Linked DNA regions of Homo sapiens: region 2 is linked to region 1. Evidence: promoter capture Hi-C in 16 types of primary human blood cells and fetal thymus (Javierre and others, 2016). All regions are on one chromosome and are shown on one strand. The core of a region is centred on a gene start or on the middle of the fragment in contact, and the rest is flanking DNA. Distances in the headings are between cores, read along the strand shown.

Evidence for each region. Contacts are between HindIII fragments. The CHiCAGO score rates a contact against its expected background, and 5 or more counts as called.
Region 2: a contact is called between a fragment that was not itself captured here and the fragment with the promoter of IMMP2L in region 1, in 1 of 17 cell types (monocytes). The highest score is 7.6, in monocytes.

Annotation. Positions count from the first base shown.
Region 1 is chr7:111,559,534-111,565,428 of GRCh38, forward strand. IMMP2L (inner mitochondrial membrane peptidase subunit 2) reads right to left here and starts at 2,959. Exons shown (of 6, transcript NM_032549.4): 1 at 2,318-2,959. RefSeq lists a silencer at 2,491-3,120. The HindIII fragment of the contact is 1,654 bases long and covers 1,800-3,453 here.
Region 2 is chr7:112,924,716-112,930,610 of GRCh38, forward strand. All of the region lies in intron 1 of SAMTOR (S-adenosylmethionine sensor upstream of mTORC1), which reads right to left. Among named protein-coding and RNA genes, the nearest start is that of SAMTOR, 12 kb to the right of the region's middle. The HindIII fragment of the contact is 1,793 bases long and covers 2,290-4,082 here.

The DNA of each region.
Region 1 (5,895 bases), core at 1,709-4,208:
CCACATCAGGTGTCAGTCCTCGTCCCAGAAATTCTAGGATCAGATACACCAGGTGAACCCCTGTGAAAAGCAAATCCCAGGGAGGCTTAACAGCTATAGGAAAGTTAGGCACTACATGGCTTTCCACAATCAAAAGGAAGATCATAGGAAAGTAATGGGTGACCACATAGAAAAACAGGGAGGGAAATTTAAAAGTAAGTACTTCTATGCCAGGCACTGTTTTTTCACACATTCTTTTATATATACTCTTTGTTCTGTTTTGATGGATAAGAAATCAAGCAGCAGAGAAATTTTAATGGCCCAAAGTGACACAGCTAATAAAATAAGAGCCAGAAATCAAGCTCATGTCCAAAAGACTGTAAAAGTCATGCTACTTCTACATGAAGTTGTGGGGTGGAGTGAGGAGGGGTGGTAAATAGCCAAGAAGAAGGAGAAAAAGAAAGAAATTTACAATTTTATCAAATAACAGTGAAATATATATATATAAAACATGTATTATGTTCCACATATGTTCCATATATAATACGCAGTTAAGATGTATACATGTTTAACATATACTTAAGCTGCATATTTAGTATGTGTATATATGGAACAAAAAGTTGAAGAAACAAGTATCAAATTGTTAAGTGGTCATCTGAAAGTGGACTCATAGGAAACTCACTTATTGCCTTTTATACCCTCCCAGATTTAATTCTAAATAACTTTTTTTTGACTTTTTATTACTCTTATAACCAGAAAAAGACAAAGAACTATTCTAGCTTAGATCTTTTAAATGAGGCTAAATGCACAGAAACCCATGCAAGTTAAAAATGGTCTACTTTCGAATTTATTTTTCTAAGTACATCATCCTTTACACTCTCCATGATTCCTAATATTAGGTCCTTCTTATGGAACAACTACAAAAGTTATCCTCATCTAATTATTATACTCGTACACTGGAAAATGACTATAACATTATTCATTATAGGAAACAAATCATCAAGGTCAGCCATCCTTGTAAGTTTATTACTGAAAGTACTAGAAAGGCGGAATAATAATTCTGTTCTCCCACAACACTGTATAGACCTGCAAACCACTATGATCAGTAGTACAGGGAAAGTCTTGTAAATTAACATGTAACTATTGAGAAAATCCACAAAACTGGTGAAAGGCCTACCCCAAAACAGCCATCTCCAATACAATCTCATCATTCTCACCATCCTACTTTTATCAAAGTGCTGATAAAAGTGCGTAGCACATGGTAAGAGAGAATTAGCTATTGAATCAATGAAGGAACCCATTATCAATAAACAATCACTTCCTGTTTTCCATAAATTATGTGGTCACCTATCACTTGAGCACAAACAAATAGGCACGTTCAGGACACAGGCAGCCAGTATCAGAATAGGCAGCCTATCACAGAGGGCAATTCTACTTTTCCTGTGTAAGAATCCAAGAATGCAGTTTTACTACATTCCTGCTTGTAGCTAATCTGAATTTCAACTAATTTAAAACGGTTATTTATATGTGACATATAGGATGCATAATGAGCTCCCAACCTTGTGAGAGGAGCTGTGTTTCATTTCACCATACAGGGGAGAGGGAAGCAGTGTATTAAAGAAGTGATAGAAAAGTCCCACAGAAGAACCAATGAAATAGACCACACTGAAAATCACAGTAAGCCTCAGAGAACTTCAGTGTCCTTTTTGGCAACTTTTCAAAAGTGAATGGAATGCTTGCCAGGAGGTACCAAGAGTGAAAGCCCAGAGAAAAAGGCCCAGCCTGGTCATCTCTCTCCCCTCAAAACATCTTCTTCTGTAAGCTTGAGAGATCCCAAAGAACTTCAACACTTGTAATCTTGTTACTAACTTTATGCTTTGGGGTCCTAAAGGATTTTTTCAGGAGTACCCTTTTAAAATGTAAACATCCCTAGGGGGGTTACTGTTCATTATCAAACAGGACCTGGATTCTTTAGTGCTATGGTCTCAGGGATTAGTCAAAGCTGGCTAATAAGATAGGGGCCGGAGACAGACAACTAGAGAGGACCAATGTTCCAAGGTAAAAACAGGTAAAGGGGAAGTGCAGTTTTCTGTCGGGTCAAGGGGCTAAAAGGGATCCACATGCCCAAGCTGTTAAACTCTATAGACTGTGTGAGGCTGAAAACAGTCCGGGGCCTGGAGCCTGTGACTTTGAAGGTGGGTCCTCCAGTTCCCGATGAAAAGGTAGAATCTGGGCCCAAGTTCCCCACGAGCAGTTCTGGACATCTAGCCCTTCTCTCTCTCGCTCGCTCTCAGGATAAAGTCCTAGGTCCTTCCACCCCTGACCATTCCTTACTTACCCTTTCTCCCGCTCTTCCTCGGTGAGAAGGGGTAAGTGGTTATTTTGTGCCCTCGCCCAATTTGGCCAAAACCCTAAAAGTAAAAAACGACAGACAGACACGTGCTTTAAAATCATGTTGTTCAAGCCTGACGCTCTCCCACCACCTGCCCAACACTTCCAGGCAGAAGGCAGCGCGCCCCCACAGCGCTCCCTCACGGCCAGAGCCGGGGGCCGGACTAGGCCCCTTTGTGAGGACTGGGAGAGGGCGCGTTGTTGGGGCGCCGGCTCGGCGGGGAGGAGCGGGCCAGCTCCGGGCCAGGTGTGCCGCCTGTGGCGCCGGTTTCTCAACCTAGTTAGCCAGTGGCACCAAGAAGAGGACTAGGCTGGGGTGGCCGCCGCACGCGCCTCAGATAAACACGCGCACGCACACATGCTCGCGATCACGCAGGACTCGCGGCCGCGCACCCCTCCGCCTCCCGGCAACGCCCGCCCCGCCGGGGCCGGGGCCGACTCCCAGGGAAGGGTCCCCAGCCCAAGAGACCACCAAGGGTCGGCGGCTACGCGCCCGCCGACCCCTGCCAGCCTCACAGCCCCCCACCCGCCGCCGGACGCCGGGCGCCCGCCCTCCGCACCCGCTGCGCAGCTCAGCCCGGGGGAAGTCCCCGCGCAGACCCCGCCCTCCGCCGGCGGCAAGCTCCGCCCCGCTGCCCCGTCGCGCGCTGGCCGCCCGAAGCTCCGCCCCCGGCGGAAAACTGGTCTCTGGACCGCCCGCCCAGGTCGGGCTCAAAATGCGGCGTGGATCTGAAAGGATCAAACACAACACTAATTCAGCAAGCTATTATTGAGCACTTGCCCTAAGCTCAGCAACGTACTAATGGGGGAGACTACAATAAAGAGCCGAAAAGTCTATGAAACTGTGTCTTCAGCTCTTCCTCTTGTTTTAGAAGCCAGGAAACAGAGAACCCTCACAGTTACTTAAGTACAGGGCAGTAGTGGCAAAGCACCTCACTAGCGATCTCTGGGCAACTCTTCATTTCATTTTTTCCTACTCATGAGCACTCAGGAAAACTATTCAGTTTTGCTGCCTCCAGGTAAAACAAAGTGAGTAACACAGGACAGGCGGTTTACTTGAGAGAAACGGGAATTTCATACTGAAGCTTTTGCCCTCAAATGGTACAAACTCTTTTTTTTTTTTTCCTGAGACGGAGTCTCGCTCTGTCGCCAGAGCGACACTGCAATCTCCGCCTCCCGGGTTCACGCCATTCTCCTGCCTCAGCCTCCCTAGTAGCCGGGACTACAGGCCCCCGCCACCATGCCCGGCTAATCTTCTTGTATTTTTAGTAGAGATGGGATTTCACCGTGTTAGCAAAGATGGTCTCCATCTCCTGACCTCGTGATCCGCTCACCTAGGCCTCCCAAAGTGCTAGGATTACAGGCGTGAGCCACTGCGCCCGGCCGAATGGTACAAACTCTTAACTGGGTTATTACAACCTACAAAGAAACCTTCTTATCCATGTTATTAATTATCCTAATTCAATGTGGTTTAAAATGTTGATGAAAGTACCCAAATCATGGTGCTCCAACAAGCTGGATGCCAACCAGGTACTCGTAAGTACTTGCAATTACAGGTGCGATATTTTCATTCCATATCATCCCAAGATGCCCTTCCTTCACGTGAAGCAGCCAGAAAGATCAACTACCAGATTCCGCATGATTGAGGAATTGATAAATAGAAAGGGAAGACCGAAACCGGCCAAATTTTCCCTTCGAAGTGAAACTTGAGAAACTTGCGTGCATTTTACCTGAGTTCCTTTCTCAGCAGATAAACTGTCAGACCTCCCAGATAGTGTCAAGGAAATGCAACTTTCCAGAACACTACATCTGGACAATGAGGTGCATCTGCTGCCTGTTCACAAACTCCTCTTCCTTACCCCTCCATAATTCCCTGCTATAGAAAGCCCTAACTTTAGTCTCCCTAAGACATGTTTGAGACTGGTCTCCCTGCCAGCATCACCTGCATTAAAGCCTGTCTTCCCTGGCAATACTCGTTGTCTCAGGGACTGGTTTTCTTTGCTAGGAGCAACCCAACCTAGGCTGAAGCCCAGGCATTTAGCAGCAGTGGCACCTAGAAATACTGAACAGACATAAAATACTTTTTTTCTCCTTTTCTTACTCCTCCAGTTGTATCTTCATTATTTCTGTCTCTATTCTCCCTCTAGATACTGCCAAACTACTCTGTGCACTTTCAGATCACTTAATACTAATGTAAATAACAGACATTCTGGCACTCTTGGTTCAAAATTTATTCTAAAGGTTTAAGAATCTACTCAGGGTCTTAAATAGCCTGATAACTAAAATTCCAAGAGTTTCCTAAAGAGAGCAAAATTGCTCTCCTGTGAAGGGGATATGTCCCAGTTTTTCTTACTTGTCACTGAAATAATTACTGCAAAGTAAGCTCTTTTCGGCCAGTGCTTAAGGACTTAATTTCAAGAGCACTTAGGTGACAGGACCACCCTCATCAAATAGCAGTCAAGAACTATTTGGTACCATGACCCCAAATTGAATGGAGCTCCTGGTCACTAGGAACTGACAGTCTGGGATGGAATGTAGGTGAATAAACAACAAAGACAGGTGTTTATGGCCTTTATTGTATTGGGAAGTCAATAAACATACAAAAAGAGTTGCTAGGTCTGGCCTGATTTTATCACTAAGATTCATCAAGTGTACTTAAAAAGAAGCTAATATCTGGAAAGGGCAGAACTATGGTATATTAGTCAGGGTTTCCTAGAGGGACAGAACCAATAGGATAGACATATAAATATAAAGAGGAGTTTATTAAGTATTAACTTACATGATGACAAAGTCCCACAATAGGCTGTCTGCAAGCTTGAGGAGCAAGAGAGCCAGTCCGAGTCTCAAAATTGAAGAACTTTGAATCCGATGTTTGAGGGCAGTAAGCGTCCAGCACAGGAGAAAGCTGTAGGCTGAGAGACTAGGCCAGTCTCTCCTTTTCATGTTTTTCTGCCTGCTTTATATTCACTGGCAGCTTATTAGATGGTGCCCACCCAATTAAAGGTGGGTCTGCCTTTCCCAGCCCACTGACTCAAATGTTAATCTCCTTGGCAACACCCTCATAGACACACCCAGGATCAATACTTTCTATCCTTCAATACATTCAAGCTGACACTCAGTATTAACCATCACATATGGAGACAGTAAAAAGATCAGTGATTGCCAGAGGTCACAGAGGAGGGGGATATGAAGCACAGATTTTTAGGGCAGTGAAACTATTCTGTATGATATGATAATGGTGATGCATGTCATTATACATTTGTCCAAACCCATAAAATATACAACCCAAAGAGGGAGCCTTAATATAAAATCTCAACTTTGGGTGATAATGATGTCAATGTAAGTTCATCAATTGTAACAAATATACTGCTCTGGTACAGGATATTCATAGTCAGGGAGGCTGTGCAGATGTGGGGTACAGGAATATATAGGAACCCTATACTTCCTGCTCAATTTTGCTCTGAACCTGAAACTGATCTTTGGGAGAAAAAAGTTTATGAGAAAAAGAAGCAGCAGTTAGAGCAT
Region 2 (5,895 bases), core at 1,936-4,435, 1.4 Mb after region 1:
TCTCAAATAAAAATTCCTCAGTTTTAGAAATGTTAAGGTATTCGAGTTCAATCATGTTAAATCATAATAAATTATGATTTATTTTAATATAATGGCCAATGTTCTTTTTTTTTTAGCAGTTTGACTTGAATTCCTATTAATGTTTTTTTCCAGCAGTTTCATTTGAAAATGACCTTCTGTGATAAAATAACTATTCATAAAACACAAGTCCAAGGAAAAAGAAAAAAGGGTGAAGTTTGAGGCAGATTCAATGTTCAAGTTGAAGGTATACACAAATGCTCCTGTGAGAATACCACATACCGAAGTTCATTTAAGACATACAGTTTGAGGGCCTGCCTGCTGTATTGGAATATTAATTTAAACACACTACTGCTTTCCTCAGTTTTAGCAACATCTTTCAGATGTAGTTATTTATCAAGTCTCTAAATAGAACTTCAGAAAGTGAGGCGTTTGAAACAATACTTTAATTAATGACACTTTCATAAACCCATGATGGTACATAACACTATTTCTGACTTTATCCATCAAATTTGAAACTAAATCATTCATTAAGGTATTGTATAATTTTAAAGGTGAATCATCAAGTCTAGAAGGCCTTTTTTTGAACTTTTAAGTTTCACTGCCCTATAGAATCTATACATTATAAGTAAATACATAAATGTATTATATGTGCTGTTAATAGGAGTCATTCAAACAAAAGTTCTATGATAACATATACCTGGGAAAAGCTATGCTTAAAACAAACATATTTTCTTTTCCTTTCTGCAAGACTTAGCGTCTAAAGAATGTACAACTTGGTTGGGTGTGGTAGCTCTTGCCTGTAATCCCAGCACTTTGGGAGGCCAAGGCCGGCAGATTACCTGAGGTCAGGAGTTTGAGACCATCCTGACAAACATGGTAAAACCCTGCGTCTACTACAAAATACAAAATTAGCCAGGTGTGGTGGCGCATGCCTGTAATCCCAACTATTCGGGAGGCTGAGGCAGGAGAATCGCTTGAACCTGGGAGGTGGAGGTTGCAGTGAGCTGAGATCATGCCATTGCACTCCAACCTGGGTGACAAGAGCCAAGCTCTGTCTCAAAAAAAAAAAAAAAAAAGTACAACTTAAGACAAAGACCTGGGTCCATGTAGTTTAATTGGGTGAGAATCCTAGGAAACAGGAGTAAGGAAGTAGAGAGAAAGATGGGAAGGAGAAAAAACTAATACAAGGTTGCTTTACTGAGGTTGCTGCTGTTGGCAAACTGAAAAGCATACCGAATGTGTCCAGAATTGTGCACCTAAAGAATGGGAGGCCACGGCATTTATCTCTAAGTTCTTATCCCCATTAACTGAGAATTATTAACAATCTGCACTGCTAGTCTGCACTTAGCCACTGAATAAGGGGACAATCTCAGTGGGCTCCAGCAGTGTGGGAGAAAGGCAGAACACAAAAAAGCAGCACTCATTTAAAGTGGGTCTATGTAAGGGCTAGTGAATCTGAGCTCAAAGTGTCTATCTACCATGGGTGAGGACAAAGGGTGTGCTATGTGAGGCAACACAGGCATCTGTTAGAAATTCTTAGAGTCCTTGCCATGTCACTATATACTTTGAAACTCAATTTACTCTATAATTATTCTACTAGCTATAAGATGCAAAGAACTGAAAATACACAGAAACCTACTACCCTACAACTTTTTAGAAGACCTCTAGTTTTTCATACTCAACAAAATTCTCTGAAATACCACCTAATGAAATTTTATGGCTATCTACCTCACTGAAGTCCTAAGGAAGAATTCAAACTTTGTAGGCTAATGCAACTCAGATTAACCAAACAACTTCAATTTAACGATTTCATTAACATTGAGGAGTCTGCAGACTCTCACAAAGTGTGTTGACACTGAAAATTGATGTGATTCATAAAGTGAAGTATACTTAAATATATAACTGACAGTAGAAGATGCACCTGTATATATTTTTCCTTCTTTCAACAGATTTTCTTTTAAAAATACTCCATATTAAATGCTACAGAAAATAAAGTTAATGAGCAGGCATTGGTATCAAAAAAAGGGGAGAAGACATGTAAAATGTGGAAATGCTATAAAAGAGATATGAACCTGACGGGTTCCCTATATCCTATGCAAGGCATCCTGGACCCAAAACTTTTATTTCATATATTTATAAAATAAAAATGTTTCAAACTCTGACTACTGTGTATACATTTTGTTAAAAGTCTGGTGGTTATAAAATTGAACAAAAAACATAGCTGGCCTTTAGTTATGAGAAAATTCCACTTCCCAAAATACCTCTGAAAGCTTAAGGTAATTTTAAAAATAAATGAAATTATTAAAAAGGAATGAGAAAAAGTATTTTCATAATAGCCCATTTTTTGTTTTTATAGTATTTAAAATAATGGTATTTAAATTTTGAGCAAAGTTTTTCAAAGTAATCTATGATTCAGGTTCTAAAATCCAAAAAAAGTTAGGGTTCACCAGTGCCCAGTATAATATTTAAAACTCCTCTACCAACTCAAACTGCATATACAAACAATATATTAAAACTCAATTTTAAGGATTTTTTTATCACTTAGTTATTAGGTCAACTAATAATTAAAAGATATACTATTTAAAAGGACAACATTTTTTCATTATTAAAAGGTAAATCAGGAGCTAGAACTTCTTGAAGTTTGCATGAAAGGTCTAGTCAACACAGTATAAGAAACATTTAGGTCTTCAAGTTCTATCAGAACTCTCAATGAATTAATAATTAGCCTTATGATTTATTTTAATATAATGGCATCTGTGAATGACTCAAAAGTGTTGTAATTAATAACCCATTTTCTTACCAATTTCTTATAGGCATTCTAGAAAAAATACATGTGTCTTAAAGTAAAAGTGAGACAGAGAGAAAGAGAGAGAGAAAGAGACAGGTACAAGGGGAAAGGGAGGCGTGGAGAACAAAATCTGCAATGGGTACACACGTTTTACTTTGACCAACTACAGAGAATTCACAAATTATTTTTAGAAAGCACAATTCAAAAATATATGCTCTACAGCTTAAATTGTCTTACAAAATTCTAGAACAAAGTTCACATTAACATGACTTCTATTTAGTTATCCCATAACATTTAAATTTTTCAAACACCCATTTTAAAAAACAAATTCGTAATTTTAAACATGAGTGATGCCAACTTAAAGTTGCCAAACCAAGTTCAATATGATAATCAATGAACCAAATTATTTTGAATCTTATATCAAGATAATACCATAACTATTGCATTGACTAAACTCACCTTCAAAAACACTATGTCACAACTAAAAAATAAATTAGGAGCTACTAATAAAAGGACAATGACAACTAGGAAAGAATAGCACATTCATTAATTTAAAAAGAGTTCCATTTTTAATAACTTTGTGATTAAGACATTATTACAATGCAACTGCCTTTGTAAAAAAACAAGTACAAGGAAATGGGTTTAAAAGTATTTTTGCTCTACATAACATCCAGAAGCGCAGCTCTAAAACAGTTCCAAATTAAAGTGAACCAATGGAATCCCTAAATTATTTATTTAGAGTTGATATTATTCTTTCTTTATGAATTAACCTCTCTCCTGCCATCTGGTACAGCATTTTTTTTCCTTCAAAATGTAACTGAATTCATATTTTCTTCAAGAGGGTTTATCTGCCTCCCACTTTATCATCTTACACTTCCCTCATCTGCCATCCTTACGGTACTTTGTCATTCATTTATACATACTGTCTATTAAAACCAGGTGTGATTTTCCCAATAGAAAGTATAAATGGAAAAGCAAAGACTACTTTTGATTTACAATTTGTATAAATTAGAGAAGTTAATTAGGGTGCTCAGTCAGTGGAGGACAAAATATTTAAATTTTCATCATGCTCAAAAAATAAACATGAAAAGTATAAACAAATTAAATTAGTTGCTAAGATAAAATTCAAACTACAGAGGATGGCTTTCAATAAATAGCAGTCACTCAAAAGCAGAATTTAAATTTTTCACAATAGTTACTGTTTTCAAAGTAAGAGTTCCAAGGTCAGAAAAGCAATAATTTCAATGTCATTTTTCTAGAGACCATTGTTTTAAGCTTATTAAAAAGGCTTTTTCATTTTGTGTTATTGTCAAAAGAAAACCTTGCAGCTGACAGTCCAGTCATATCCATTAAGTTCTTTAATAGCAGTACACAGATCTTTTCGAAAAATTTATTAGCTCAAGGAGAAATGAACAGTAACACCACCAAATAGATAAAGAATTACTTATATGTGAAAAAAATGAATAGGTGGTGCTAAGGTTCATGCATTTTTACATGCCAGGACCACTTGATTTTTATATACTTGATGTGTATAAAAATAATATTTTTTCTCAATAACTCTATCCTAATTCTCCTTTTTAAAACATACAAAGCACAGAAAATAAGTTAGCAAGTATATATGTGATGCCATTTTAAGATAAAAATATATTTACAAACCATATACCTGATAAGGGGTTAATATCCAAAAGATATATAAAAAAAACCTCAAACTGAATAGCAAAAAAACAAATAATCTGACTAAAAAATGGGCAATGACCTGAATAGATATTTTTCCAAAGACAACACAAAAAATGGCCAATGGGTATATAGAAGGGTGCTCAACAAAACTAATCATCAGGAAAATGCAAATTAAAACCACAATAAGATACTACCTCCCATCTGTTAGGATGGCTATTATCAAAAAGACCAGAGATAACAAGCATTGGTGAGGATGTGAAGAAAAGTGAATCCTGTATACTTATGTTGGGTATGTAAATTAGTACAGCCAAAACAGTATGGAGGTTCCTAAAAAAATTAAAAATAAAACTACTACATGATTCAGCAATCCCACTATGGGTATTTATCCAAAGGAAATGAAATCAGTATGTCAAAGAGATATCTGCAATCCTATAATCATTGCAGCATTACTCACAATAGCTAAGAAACGAAAATAAATGGAGGTGAATCTATAGTGAAAAGACATGTGAGACTGAGAGTATAGAGAGAGACCGACTGCAAAGAAGTATGAGAAAATTTTGGCAGTGATGAAAATGTTCTACGCCTTATTGTGGTAATGGTTTTACAGAGATGCATGCATTGTCAAAACTTACGGAATTATATACTTTAAAAAGACACAATTTACTGTACATGAATCATATCTCAATAAATTTAATTTTTAAAAATGATGTGCCACAAGCATGGTATATGTTACAAAATTAAGATTATATTTCATTAAATTTGAGGGCCATCAAATTCTCTAAAAAAGCAAAAAAATACATGAGTATCAAAAGTCTTAAACTTTTAGAAATTCAGAACAATTTATTTGATTCTGACTTAGGCATATTGCCAAATACGGGCCCTAAGATGCCTTATCTGTAGATGACAAGACTACCAAATTCAAGTTCAAAGTACCTTTAATGGTCATTTTCTCTAACACAAGGTAAGTAAAGAAACTCATGACTAAGTGCAAACAAGTTCAGCTACCATTTCAAGGCATTAAAACAAAATGTTCAGAATTCAGATTGTCTTACATAGTTAAGCCATACAACGACCAGTCTTCTCAGCTCTTGAGCACCTGATACAGTGACACATCTAAAAGTGGGATAAAAAACATCCAAGGTGTTTGGTAATTAAGAGCCAAAAAGTAACCAGAAAACAAAAAGTTTGAAAACCTGCATCTTATAGCCAACATGTTATGAATAGTCATTTCTCTAATGTGGGAAGAAAACACCACCAATATTCTGACATGCTAAAAAGGTTGGACTTTTCATATAAAAACTTAGAAACACAAACAGCAAAAGGGGCAAAAAAAAAAAAAAGAAGAAAAAGAAAAAGTCATTTTAATACTGAGAAGACTACAGAACAGTCTAGGTAAAAATTCCAGGAGC